Regions from separate parts of the Homo sapiens genome. Here region 2 is linked to region 1. Evidence: promoter capture Hi-C in 16 types of primary human blood cells and fetal thymus (Javierre and others, 2016). All regions are on one chromosome and are shown on one strand. Each heading gives the region's core, a stretch centred on a gene start or on the middle of the fragment in contact. The rest is flanking DNA. Distances are from core to core; before and after follow the strand shown.

The links. The method cuts DNA at HindIII sites, captures the fragments that hold promoters and counts their contacts. A CHiCAGO score of 5 or more calls a contact.
Region 2: a contact is called between a fragment that was not itself captured here and the fragment with the promoter of MSI1 in region 1, in 9 of 17 cell types (megakaryocytes, endothelial precursors, M2 macrophages and 6 more). The highest score is 18.1, in megakaryocytes.

What each region holds. Positions count from the first base shown.
Region 1 is chr12:120,366,164-120,373,105 of GRCh38, reverse strand. MSI1 (musashi RNA binding protein 1) reads left to right here and starts at 3,942. Exons shown (of 15, transcript NM_002442.4): 1 at 3,942-4,073; 2 at 4,233-4,273; 3 at 4,833-4,914; 4 at 5,014-5,098. The coding sequence starts at 4,015. It also overlaps the pseudogene RPS27P25. The HindIII fragment of the contact is 14,859 bases long and covers 2,457-6,942 here.
Region 2 is chr12:120,429,411-120,436,352 of GRCh38, reverse strand. No RefSeq gene overlaps it. Among named protein-coding and RNA genes, the nearest start is that of COX6A1, 5.2 kb to the left of the region's middle. RefSeq lists a silencer at 2,661-2,861. The HindIII fragment of the contact is 5,474 bases long and covers 1-4,914 here.

The sequences.
Region 1 (6,942 bases), core at 2,693-5,192:
CAATATATCTTAAAGCTGTGTTTCTCCAAGAGTGGCCAAGGAAAACCCTCAGCTCTCAGCCTTCTCATCTGATAGAGGTGTCTGTTCAAAAACTGCCATTTTCTGAGCCCCCATCCACCCCTAGTCCACTTGACCTACAGTTTTAGAGTAGTGAAAGTCAAAATATGAACGTTAATTATCATTGTACTTAAGAGATGCAGACATTCTGCTTAAATGAGAGTTCTGTATCATAGAGTAGACTCATTTACCTCATCTCCTTCAAGTCTTTGCTAAAACGTCTCCCTCCCCATGAGAATGTTGTTGATTTAAAATTGCATCTCAGGCCAGGTGTGGTGGCTCACGCCTGTAATCCCAACACTTTCAAGGGCAGAGGTGGGCAGATCACCTGAGGTCAGGCGTTCAAGACCAGCCTGGCCAACACGGCGAAACCCCATCTCTACTAAAAATACAAAAAATTAGTCAGGAGTGATGGTGGATGCCTGTAACCCCAGCTACTGGGGAGGCTGAGGCAGGAGAATCACTTGAATCCAAGAGGCAGAGATTGCAGTGAGCCGAGATCATGCCACTGCACTGCAGCCTGGGTGACAGAGCAAGACTCCATCTCAAAAATATATATATATATAAAATTTCATCTCACCTTCTTCCCAATAGTACCCACCCTCCCTATCACCCTTCCTTCTCTGTGGCACCTACAACATCTAACTGAACACACCATTTATTTATCTATTGTTTATTCATTCATTCACTCATTCATTCATTGACTCATTCATTCATTCATTTACTTGTATGACTCTCATCTCTAGAATGCAAGCTTTACAAAGGCAGCTGCTGGGACTACAACACCTAGGACAGTGTCTAGTACATAGAAGATGTTCGGTAAATACCTGTGCCAAGTTGCATAATATCATTTGCCCACTGTCTTTCTCAAGAGGATTTTTTAAAAACTATAAAGCAAATTCTTCTTTTATTCTTTGAGTGATGTTCTGTGTGTGTAGTACCAGAGAAAAAGAGCTGGAACCACATCCTCTAATCTCTTAATTCTGAAGTCTGGGCCTGTTGCTCTAAAGATCATTTTTCCTTAATACCACTGAGATCCTCAATTTACTATGAGGATCATGAGTTTACAACTGCATTGTCCTGTGAGGGCTACCTCTAGAAGGGCTTGTCGCCCCTATTGTGAACAAAGTGGACTGAAGCTGCTGCAGCTGAGATACACCTGCACTGAAAGAGGATTTGTCTAAGTCTAACCCATGTTACTGTGATACAAACAAGCTACTGACCAAAAGAGGTAGACGCTTCCTCCTCAGATTCTGAATGAATATGCTAATACATGGATCCTATCTCAAGCTACTTCTTACACAGCATTGGCTGACTCTGAACAGATGCCTTTACCCATTTCCTTTTTTTTTTTTAATCCAAAATGTGTTTATTGAGATGGTTTCCCACTCATCTTGATTCAGAGTGCTTTGGGTGCTGCTTCCTCCTGAAGGAACATCCTTCTGTAGCCTTCCTTTTCCTCCTGTAGGCTGGCAGAGAACAGTGGAGCAGGCAACACACAAAACTACCGTTTGTGCATGGCTACAGACCATGGTGATTTTATAGCATCCTGGGCATGTCATATCCATGAAGTAGGAATCGGGACTCTGCACCAGGCGTTTCTTCTTCTGTTTCCTCTTCTCTTCTGGAGAAGGATGAAGGAGATCCCTGTCGAGAGGCATGTTCTCGTGGGTAGGTCGCCACTGCCGGAAAGGACCCATTTCCTATCCTTCAAGCTCATCTGCCCAGCAGCACCAGCACACAAACCAAAGTCCAGGAACACTGGAAGATCCCTACTCCCCGCACCTCTCCAATGACCCTTTTTAAGTTCAGACCTAAGAAGAGTCACCTCCCTAATACCGCAGAGGCTACCTGCTCACCCTCATCTGTGTCTCTGCTACAACACAAACTGGAATGCTTTTGTGTCGGAATGGTAAGAAATGCCTTGTGTGGGTGGCCCTCCAGTCCCCAGTCCAGGGGATGCTGAGAAACTGTGGGGCAGAGTAGGGGACACAAACAGGAAAAAGCAAGTTTGTTTCTAGTGTTATGCTCACAGGGTGGCAGGATATACCTGCTGAGCATTCCCAGAAGGTCCCCAAGGAAACCATTACTGTAAGTCTCTCACTTTCTTCTCTGCCTGATGGTTGGGGTGGGGAGAGGGAAGGAGGGCTATCAAGAGGGGGATGGGCACCCTTCCAGAGGTCAGAGTTATGATGCCCAGGAATAAAAGGTGTTGAATTCAGGATGGAATGTGAAGGTGAACAGCAAAGGGCTTGTCAACATGGGTTGTCACTGGATTACACCGGATGGATTAAGGTAGGGATGGGGGAAGGAGTAGAAGGTGAGTTGGGAGGGAGGGGCTTGTGTGGCACTGAGACCCCCAGCAGGGATGGGGAGAAGGGGTGTTGGCCACCTAAGCTTCCTGGTTTGATCCTTTTTTGGCTGGTTTCAGCTGGGGAAGTGAAGGGTCCTAAGGCTTGGATATGGAGAGGTGGGAATATGGAGAGGTGGGGATATGGAGAGGCGGGGATAAGGAGAGGTGGGGATAAGGAGAGTGGCCCCGCAGCTCCCCTGGTGAACCAGAATACTTTCTCAGGGTTGTTCCCAGGCTGGAGGGAGGGAATTTTAGGGGTACGTAAGGTGACTCCAAGGAGCCTTGGGTGCAAGTACTGGGGGATCCCAGAGACCCAGAAGATGGGGGTAGAAAGGAAGGTGTTTGCCTTCACGGGGAGTAGCCTCAAAATAAGAGGGACTGAGGGAAGTCATTCCAAATGCAGTGGGTAGGTAGTTTAGGCTCTTCCAATGGGATGGGGTGGAGCTTAGACCTCTGCAAAAGAAGGGGGTCATTCGGAGGGGACGGTGCACAGCTGAGGCGTTGGGCTCCTAAACTGGAAACAGGAGGCTCTAAGAGGCACTGCCTTTTCCTCCAGCCTCGGTGTGGTGGGGGTGGTGAGTGTCTGGAACCGGGTTTCCCGAATCAGGACAGGAGTCTGAATGGATCTCACAAAAACCGGCCAGGGAGGGAGAGAACCAGGGGAGACTCCTCACACCGGGAGGTGGGGGTGGCGGCAAACTGAGAACCCGGGCTTGGGGCGCGGGATTTTCTCAACAGACCATAGGGTCCACTAATGTGGACGGCAGGGATTTGGGGAAACTAAGGGGGACTCTCACTTTGGACACCAAGGGCTGAGGACGGATTGGGGAAGAGGATACGGTTTCTACTGGGGTGCTGATGGAGGTTCCCCACTCGGGACGCGAGGCACTGAGTGGGTCCCCCAAACTGGATATGGGATCCTGGGAACGGAGCGAGGGCTCTAAATTAGAGCCCTGGGGTGGGGGTGGGGGGCTGTAAATTAGGTTGGGAGGAAACTGGGGGCTCTGAGGGCGGCTTCTCGCTCCGACTGGGGAAATGGAGCATGTGGGGACTGGGGAGCACTAGGGCTATCTCCCGCCCGACCCGAGGAGATTGGGGTTCTCTTCAATTCTGGACAGCAGGGACCTGAGAGGGAAGACCGGGGGGGTTCCCGATCCGGAACCGAGCTACCTTGAAGGCACCGGGAAGCGCTTCATTCCGGGAGGGCGTTCCCGCGGCCGGGCCCCCGCGCCGGGGTGGGTGGGGGGTGCGGCCGCGCCCTGGTCCCGGCCCGCACCGGGATTCGGGGGTCTCGCTCGGCCCCGGAGACCCAGGAGCCCCGCGGGAAGGGGGTCCCGGCGCCGCCGCCTCCGCGGGCGCCCGGGCTCGCGGGCGAGCGCGGGGCTTTATGCGCGCAGGGCGGCGGGGGGAGGAGCCGGCAGGTCGGCCCCCGGCGGGCCCTCCCCTCGGCCGTCCCCGCCCGCCCGCCCGAGCGGGGTCGGGGGAGGGGGCAGCATGGCCTGTCCGTCCGGCCCCCTTCGCCGCGCTCCTCATCTGCCCCGCGCCGAGCGCCGCCGCCGCCGCCGCCGCCGCCGCTCCGCTGCCCGCGCCGCCCGCGGCTCCCGATGGAGACTGACGCGCCCCAGCCCGGCCTCGCCTCCCCGGACTCGCCGCACGACCCCTGGTACGGCCCGGCCCGGCCTGCTTGGCCCGCGCCCGCCCCGGCCCCGCCAACATGGCCGATCCGGGTCCGGCCGGGCCTCCCCGGAGCCCGGGCCCGCGCCCCCTGCGCCCTGGCGCCCGGCGCTCACGCGGGCCCTTTGTGTCTCTCCTCCTCCCGCAGCAAGATGTTCATCGGGGGACTCAGTTGGCAGACTACGCAGGGTGAGCGAGCCCGGGAGCGCCCGCCGGTCCGGCAGGGCACCCCGGACCCCCCGGCGCCCCGGACCCGGACACCCCAGCCCGGCCCTGCGCCCTGCTGACCCCGGGCGCCCTCGCGCCCTCTTTCGCGCCCCGCCCGGAGACCCCGAGAGCGCAGGGCGATCCGCGAGCGCACCCGGCCCAGCGGGTGGAGGGGAGCAGATGAGGGGTTCAGGGGGTATCGGGGGGTGGGCTGGGCCCCCGGGACCCGCCGGCGGCAGCGCCAACTCCGCTCGCACCTGCGGCTCAAACTTTTGTGAGGCTGCTCCCGGAGCGGCGGGAACCCGGCCGGAGCCGTCCCCCTTCCAGCCCAGCTCGGCCCTCGGCTTCCCGGGGCCCCGGTGGGCGCCAGGAGGCTCAGCGGGAACGGGGCGAGGGCGGTGGGGGGCGGCGGCAGTGGAGAACGCGCGGGCAGCTTGGCGCGGGGGCGGCCGGGCCGCTCCGGGGTCACCGGGGGCAAAGGACGGGGGGGGGGGAAGGGCGCGGGGCCCGGGCTGGTCCGAAGGCGGGTGTGTGGTTACAGAAGGGCTGCGCGAATACTTCGGCCAGTTCGGGGAGGTGAAGGAGTGTCTGGTGATGCGGGACCCCCTGACCAAGAGATCCAGGTGAGCCCCTCACCCCCTCCTCCTGCTCCCGGCTCGCCCCCCTCCACCCGCCACTCACTGCCTTGTAACCATCTGCCTCTCCCTCACTACGGCGCGCAGGGGTTTCGGCTTCGTCACTTTCATGGACCAGGCGGGGGTGGATAAAGTGCTGGCGCAATCGCGGCACGAGCTCGACTCCAAAACAGTGAGTGGCCCTCGGGGCTTCGGGGGTCCTTTGGGAGAGGGAGGCTGCCGGAGGAGAGGGTCAGGACTCTCCCCAGGGGACAGCTGGACGGGGTCCATGAGGAAGGAGGGAGTTTTTCTGAGTAAGAGGGCTGCCATGCTCTGAAACTTTGTCACTAGAGTTGGGGGGGAGAGGGAGGAGAAAAATCCCTGGCCTGCCATGAGATGCTACATCCCCCCTCCCCTAGTCCTGGTGAGGGGAGAGGCAGCCGCCACCCTCTCCCTAGAAGTACTAATCATGATGCCTCAGAGCAGAGCTTGGGGTGGGGCTAGGTCCCTCCCCCAGCCCAAATTGGGTGAGTCAGGGTAGCACTGACCCACCCGGTGGCTTCTGTGAACTCTAACTAGTATTTGGCTCTGCGACACCCCCTCTTCATCCAGACCAATGGCAAAGCATCCCTTGAAGCCCCCTCCCTCTCTCCTTCCCTCCTCCCCCGACTTTTGGTCAATGAGCTCCTTGCTTTGTGTGGAAGACAGGGACCTGCTTTGCCCACGGAGGGGATTTATGAGAAAGGCTCTAGCTTGCCTGGAAACGACCCTTCGGAAGACTAGATCTTAGGAGAAGCTGCTTGGTTGGCATTCAAACTCATGGAACATTTTGCTGTTGTCCCACAGCTCCTTCGTGTCTTAGACCCTGCAGGGGGCGCTGGCTCCAGGGCAGATGGAAAAGTAGAAAAGTCAGAGGAGGGGGTTACTCCCATGTGATGGGGGTGTCTGTCTGCTGGGGGCAGGGATAGTGTGGATCTCTTCTCTCCATGCTTCCCTGCTGTCCCCCAGCCTTGGGCCTCTCTGCTTGGGTCAGTCCCTGGCTCCCGTTTACCTGCAACAATAGCTGCTTGTGCCCAAGAATTTGTCAAATTACCGCCTGTCCCCAGCTCCTGTTATCTCTGCCCAGTGGCTCCCGCTCCCGCTCGCAGTAATGAGCAAATGAGGCCAGGCCTCAACTTTGCCGGCTCTGAAAGGATCTTCTTGGCGCAGCCTGAGTGACCCAAGCCTGGAAATGGAGAGACAGTGGCCTATTGTTTTTGGTGATTATCTGCCATCAAGCTGCCTGTTCTGCTACCATCCCCTGTCCTCAGAATGCACTGATGGCTTCTGCAGTGCTGAGGAAGCTGAGATTTAGGGGCTGGGGGATGGAGGAGTGGAAGATTGATAAAGGGGAAGAGAATGAGGGAGGAAGGAGGGTGAGATGAGCATCCTTAGGAGATGGGGCTGAAAAGGGCCAGGGCTTTGTCTGTGTTTGGCGTCCTCCAGCCTGGGAAAGGGGGTGGGAGGGAGGTTTACTGTGGGGAGTCTATTTTGAGCTCTGACTTTCACCTTTTATTTACTTGTTGGGTTTTATTTATGTTGCCAGCTGTGAGTCACAGTGGAGGTGGGGTGTGTCAGGGATGGGGTGTGCGTGGGTCTGTGGGATCGTGGCTTGGGTACCATCTCCCCATCGGGGTCTGTGTAGGGGGACTGTGTGTGGTGCGCTGGTGGCTGGGGCGGCTGCTTCTGGGAGAAAGAGAAGGATGGACATGTCCGTGGAGGTGTGGAATTGAAACTTCAGGCGGGAGAAATGGGCAGTTGTGATTTTTCCCTGGAGCCCAGTGGGACTTGGCAGGAGAGGAGGCATTGCCCCAGTGTGGATTTTGGAGGTTCCATCTCTGTGGACAGATTCCAGTGGGGGAGCCTGTAGGAGGCTAGTTCCTGGTCTGTGCCATTCAGAGAGAAGCCAGAGCCAGCTGCCTAGAACGAGGCTGAGTTTTGAACAGAAGGAACTTTGGGAAAAGATAGATCTTCCCTGCGATTGGCTGGTGAACTTAT
Region 2 (6,942 bases), core at 928-3,427, 65 kb before region 1:
TACAAAAATTATTCGGCGTCGTGGCGCAAGCCTGTAGTCCCAGCTACATGGGAGGCTGAAGCAAGAGAATCTCTTGAACCTAGGAGGTGGAGTTTGCAGTGAACTGAGATCATGCCACTGCACTCCAGCCTGGGCGACACAGCGAGACTCTGGTCTCAAAACAACAACAGCAACAAAAAAGTCCGGGTAGGAGAACAAACAGGGACTCTAGTGTGAGAAGGCTGGGCTCACATCTTGTTCCCTTACAGCCTGTGTGGCCTTGGGCAGGTTAGCTGAAACCGATGCCTTAAGGTCATGCAGTTTCATGAAGACAAAACCTTAGGATCATATTACTAGAGCTTTACTACCTGATTTAGCATGAAATCTTTCTCGAGTAGCCTAAGTTTTTATACTTCAGGGTGCAATCAAGATCATCAAATCTGTCAAACACGTCCTCAAACACAGCCAAAGGGTATATGAGGCCCCACACTGGGGCCATACAAAGGGTCTAAGCTAGCCGGGCTTGCTTGTAGTCCTAGCTACTTGAGAGGCTGAGGCCAGAGGATCCGTTAAGCCCAGGAGTTCAAGTCCAGCTTGGGCAACATAGCAAGACACCATCTCTAAAAAAAAAAGAAAAAGAAAGTGTTCAAGACAGGGATCAGGAACTCCTGGGTTCAAATCTCTGGTTTGCCACCAGCTATGCTTCCTCTTCTCTACAATAGGAATGTAATAATGTAATATGCATTTATTCATTCCTTTGTATAACAAATTTTTTTTTTGAGATGGAGTCTTGCTCTGTCACCCAAGCTGGAGTGTGGTGGCACAATCTTGGCTCACTGCAACCTCCACCTCCTGGGTTCAAGCAATTCTCCTGCCTCAGCCTCCCGAGTAGCTGGGATTACAGGCGTGCGCCACCACACGCGGCTAATTTGTGAATTTTTTAGTAGAGATGGGGCTTCACCACGTTGGCCAGGCTGGTCTCAAACTCCTGACCTCAAGTGATTCACCTGCCTCGGCCTCCCAAAGTGCTGGGATTACAAGCATGAGCCACTGCACCTAACAAGCATCCTGAGTAGTTAGGACTACAAGTGCACACCACCTCATCCAGCTAATTTTTTTTTTTTTAGAGACGGGGTCTTACTATGTTGCTCAGGCTGATCTCAAACTCCTGAGTTTAAGCGATCCTCCCACCTCAGCCTCTCAAAGTTCTGGAATTACAGGTGTCGGCCACTGTTCCTGACCCAGAGCCAGAATTTAAATCTAGAAGTCTGGCCCCAAAGCCTCCATGTTTAACCACTCTGAGATACTGCACTCTTAGCACAGTGCCTGGCACAAAATGAGTGCTCAATAATTGTTAACTGTTAGAATTGTCTTGATCTAGTCCAGGTGCGATGGCTCATGCCTGTAATCCCAGCACTTTGGGAGGCCGAGGCAGGTGGATCACCTGAGGTCAGGAGTTCGAGACCAGCCTGGCCAATATGGTGAAACCCTGTCTCTACTAAAAATACAAAAATTAGCCGGGCGTGATGGTGGGCACCTGTAATCCCAGCTACTTGGAAGGCTGAGGCAGGAGAATCGCTTGAACCTGGGAGGTGGAGGTTGCAGTGAGCAGAGATCGTGCCATTGCACTCCAGCCTGGGTGACAAGAGTGAAACTCTGTCTCAAAAAAAAAAAAAACAAGGAATTATCTTGATCTGTTGAAACAAAACTACTTCAAGTTGGAACTAGTCTTAAATTTTTTGACCATAAAAGAAAAAAAAACAAAGAATTGTCTTGATCGAGGTGGTACAGGGTCAATAGAAGAGGATCAAAATGGCATTTGGCTTTGGAGGGGCAGTCAGTCTGCCCTCCTGTAGGATATGACATCTAAGTCACCTACCCTCAAATAAATGAGTGAGTCAGAGACAAGTTTGGGCTGGGATGGAAAGAGTTTTCCAGAAAGATATCTTTCCAAAAGATACCACCAGAGAGGCTGGGTGCAGTGGCTCATGACTGTAATCCCAGCACTTCGGGAGGCCAAGGCAGGCGGATCACCTGAGGTCAGGAGTTTCAGACCAGCCTGGCCAACATGACAAAACCCCGTCTCTACTAAAAATACAAAAATTAGCTGGGTGTGCTGACACACACCTGTAATCCCAGCTACTTGGGAAGCTGAGGCATGAGAATCGCTTGAACCCAGGAGGCAGAGCTTGCAGTGAGACATGATTGCACTACTGCACTCCAGCCTGGGCAACAGAGGAGACTCTGTCAAAAAAAAAAAAAAAAAAAAAAAGGCCAGGCGCTGTGACTCACACCTGTAATCCCAGCACTTTGGGAGGCTGAGGCGGGTGGATCACCTGAGGTCAGGAGTTCTAGACCAGCCTGGCCAACATGGTAAAACCCCGTCTCTACTAAAAATACAAAAAAAAAAAAAAATTAGCCAGACGTGGTGGCAGACATCTGTAATCCCAACTGCTTGGGAGGCTGAGGCAGGAGAATCTCTTGACCTGGGAGGCAGAGGTTGCAGTGAGCCAAGATCACGCCATTGCACTCCAGCCTGGACGACAAGAGTGAAACACCGTCTTAAAAAAAAATTAGCCAGGTGTGGTGGCGGGCACCTATAATCCCAGCTACCTGGGAGGCTGAAGCACAAGAATCACTTGAACCTGGGAGGTGGAGGTTGCAGTGAGCCAAGATCCAGCCTGGGCGACAGAGCCAGACTCCGTCTCAAAAAAAAAAAAAAAGATTTCTGACTGAAGTGCACCTAGAGGTTTGCATAGAAGGCATAGAAGGCTGGGTGTCAGGGTTGGTTTCCTTGCAGTGGGAGGGGGCGGTCCAGCTGGGGTAGGCTGAATAGCGTAGCTGTGCAGGTTAGAACACTGGATTTAGACCTTGAGCCACCCAGGTTTGAGCCTTGGCCCTAGCCCTTCCTGCTAGGAAGACCTAGAGCAATCTGCTTTACTCTGAGCCTTTCTTTCTTCATTCATAAATGGGGCTAATAACTGGATCTTCCAGAGATGTTGTGAGCTTAAATGTGTCAATGTAGGTAGAAAGCCTGACACGTGGGGGCGGGTGTGCACAGTGATAGCTATTACTTATTTCTGTGTTCCTACCCCCACCTCTCAACCTTCTGCCGAGCTAGATTGTCAGCTTTAGAGGGCAGACCCCCAGTATCATCTATCTCTGTGACCCCATAGAATTTGGTGCTCAGTTATTTTTCCTTACTGGTCCCTGTTGATGCTCATACACTCGTCTACACCCGAGGTTCTGCTTAGGCCAGCCCCACGTGGTTCCCCACCTCTGTCTGCACACATCACACTCGGTTCTCACCTCTTCCAGGAAGCCTTTCCTGGTTACATCCTGACCCTGGCCTCTGGTCCCCCAGTGATGTTCAGCCCACTGTACCTCTTATGATGACTATTCCACTTCCTCATTCCACTTCAGGCCCCAGGAGACCCCCTAACCTTTTTTTTTTTTTTTTAAGACAGAGTCTTGCTCTGTCACCCAGGCTGTAGTGTAGTGACACGATCTCGACTCACTACAACCTCCGCCTCCTGGGTTCAAGCAATTCTCCTGCCTCAGCCTTCTGAGTAGCTGGAATTACAGGCATCTGCCACCACACCCGGCTAATTTTTGTATTTTTAGTAGAGATGGGGTTTCACCACGTTGGCCAGGCTGGTCTCGAACTCCTGACCTCAGGTGATCTGCCCACCTCGGCCTCCCAAAGTGCTGGGATTACAGGCGTGAGCCACTGCGCCCGGCCAGGAGACCCCTTTTTTTTTCGGATTCCTCTAAATTCTCTCAATGCCTGGCACAGGCCAGGCATAACAAAATGGTTAAGAACTCAGGTTCTCAGACAAAGCTGGATTTAAGTCCACCTCTGGCTGGGTGAGGTGGCTCACACCTATAGTCTCAGCACTTTGGGAGGCTGAGATAGGAGGATCACTTGAACCCTGGAGTTCAAGACCAACCTAGGCAACATGGCGAACCCCTATCTCTACAAAAAATACAGAAATTAGCTGGGCATGGTGATGCCTGCCTGTAATCTCAGCTACTTGCGAGGCTGAGGTGGAGGATTGCTTGAGTCCAGGAAGTAGAGGTTGCAGTGAGCCAAGGTCATGCCACTGCACTCCATCCTGGGCAACAGAGTGAGACCCTATCTTTTTTTTTTTTTTTGAGACGGAGTCTCACTCTGTCACCCAGGCTGGAGTGCAGTGGCACAATCTCAGCTCACTGCAACCTCTGCCTCCCTGGTTCACGCGATTCTCCTGCCTCAGCCTCCCGAGTGGCTGGGATTACAGGCACCCGCCAACTTGCCTGGCTAATTTTTGTATTTTTAGTAGAGACGGGGTTTCACCATCTTGGCCAGGCTGGTCTCGAACTCCTGACCTCGTGATCCACCTGCCTCGGCCTCCCAAAATGCTGGGATTACAGGCGTGAGCCACCACACCCAGCCAAAACCCTATCTTAAAATATAAAAATAAATCCAGGTTCTGCTGCTATTGCTGGACAAGTAATTTTATGCTTCAGTTTCTTCATCTGCAGAATGAGGAAAATAATAGTACCTACTGTTAGGGTTTTTGGGAGAACTGAACATGATGATGTGTGTAAAGCACTTAGCACTTTCCTCAACCTATAGCAGTGATTTGTGTTATATTATTATTAATAAACCACTATTACATTAAGTTTAAAACAAAGCAGATATATTGTATGTGAAAAGGTGGTATATTGGAATGTATTGATATCGGTCCCTCTTACATTATATCTCAATAAAGCTGTTAAAAACAAGAAAGCAGGCTACAAAATATTAAATGTATACTTCTATTTTTGTAAAACACACGACAATTCCGTAAGGGCTACACTCACATGTTGACAGAAGTTATGTCTGGGCTTTAAATTTTCTTTTTAAATTTTCTACCATGAACGTATAGTACTTGTATTATAAGAACAAAAGCTTTCATCAAAAAGCAGATTATAAAGTTGCTATAGGCTAGGCGTGGTGGCTCATGCCTGTAATCAGAACATTTTGGGAGGCTGAGGCAGGAGGATTGCTTGATTCCAGGACTTTAAGACCAGCCTGGGCAACATAGGGAGATCCCATCTCTATTAAAAAAAAAAAAAGTTTTTTCTTGCATTGCTGTAAAGAAATTTTAAAAAGGTCAGGCATGGTGACTCACACCTGGAATCCCAGCACTTTAGGAGGCCGAGGTGGGTGGATCACCTGAGGTCAGGAGCTCGATACCAGCCTGTGACTAATATGATGAAACCCTGTCTCTACTAAAAACACAAAAATTGGCCTGGCGCCGTGGTTCACGCCTCTCATCCCAGCACTTTGGGAGGCCGAGTCGGGTGGATCACGAGGTCAGGAGATGAGACCATCCTGGCTAACACGGTGAAACCCCGTCTCTACTAAAAATACAAAAAAACTATCCCGGCGTGGTGGCGGGCGCCTGTAGTCCCAGCTACTCAGTAGGCTGAGAAGAATCGCTTGAGCCCGGGAGGCGGAGGTTGCAGTGAGCCGAGATTGCGCCATTGTACTCCAGCCTGGGCAGCAAGAGCGAAACTCCGTCTCAAAAAAAAAAAAAAAAGTTTTAATCAAGTCGCTAGCGGCACTTCCGTTGCTGGTATTAGTTCCATTAGATTGTAAGCCACATGAGGGCAGGGACCCCTTCTGCCTGGAACAGAAAAGGCGCTCAGTGAACATTTACAGCAAAGCCACCGGGTGGGGCGACTCTTGACACCCGCGTCTGCAGTACCGCTCTCGCCCAGTGGGTGGCAGGCTCCGCATGTGCGGGCGCCGCCCACGAGCCTGGCCAGAGGAGTCACGCCCGCCACCTTATACGTGGCTGTCTGGTCTCAGGATCCTTGGAGGAGGAGGGGAGGTGGAGCTTGTGCGAGGGCTGGAGAGGACCCTTCCTGGGCCTCAAGGACTCCTTTTTTTTTTTTTTTTTTTTTTTTAATAATTTCTTTAGAGACAGGGTCTCTGTCGCCCAGGCTGGAGTTCAGTGGCGCCAGGTTAGTGATCGCTTTGAGAGAAAGACCTCGGCCAGGCGCAGAGTGGCTCACGCCTGTAATCCCAGCACTTTGGGAGGCCGAGGCGGGCGGATCACCTGACGTCAGGAGTTCAAGACCAGCCTGGCCCACATGGCGAAACCCTGTCTCTACTAAAAATACAAAAATTAAACGGGCTTGGTGGCACATGCCTGTAATCCCAGCTACTCGGGAGGCTGAGGCAGGAGAATCGCTTGAACCTGGGAGGCAGTTCTGCTCAGTCTCTTGAGTAGCTGGGGTTACAGGCATCCGCCACCATGCCCAGCTAATTTTGGTATTTTTAGTAGAGACCGGGTTTCACCATGTTGGCCAGGCTTGTCTGGAATTCCTGACCTCAGGTGATCCGCCTGCCTCGGCCTCCCAAAGTGCTAGGATTACAGGTGTGAGCCACCACGCCCGGCCAAGTTTTGTATTTTTTGTAGAGATGGGGTTTCACCATGTTGCCCAGGCTGGTCTCAAACTCCTGAATTCAAGTGATCCTCCTGCCTCAGCTTCCCAAAGTGTTGGGATTACAAGTGTGAGCCAGGTTGCCTGGCCAGGAGATCCTTCTAAAGTATAATCTGCCTATCCCACCATCCCTGTTTGAAACCCTGTTGCCCCCAGGATAGAACTCAAACTACTTACTCTGACCTCCAAGGTGCTAAGGAATACCATCGCTGCCTATCTCCACCATTATCCCTAGGGACACCACATCCATCCTCCGAGCTAGGCTTCCTTCTGTTTCTGAAATGTGCCAAGCCCCTTCCAACCTCAGGACCTTCGCTCGGGCGGTTCCCTGTCCCAGGACTGCTCTTCCCCCTCCCCCATTAACTTCTAAGTCGCCTGGGAAAAGCTTCACGAGAGCAGGGAGCTTGTCTGTCTTGCTGACTCCTATATCCCAACACCAAACACAGTACCTGACACAAACAAAGTGCTTACTTTTTTTTTTTTTCC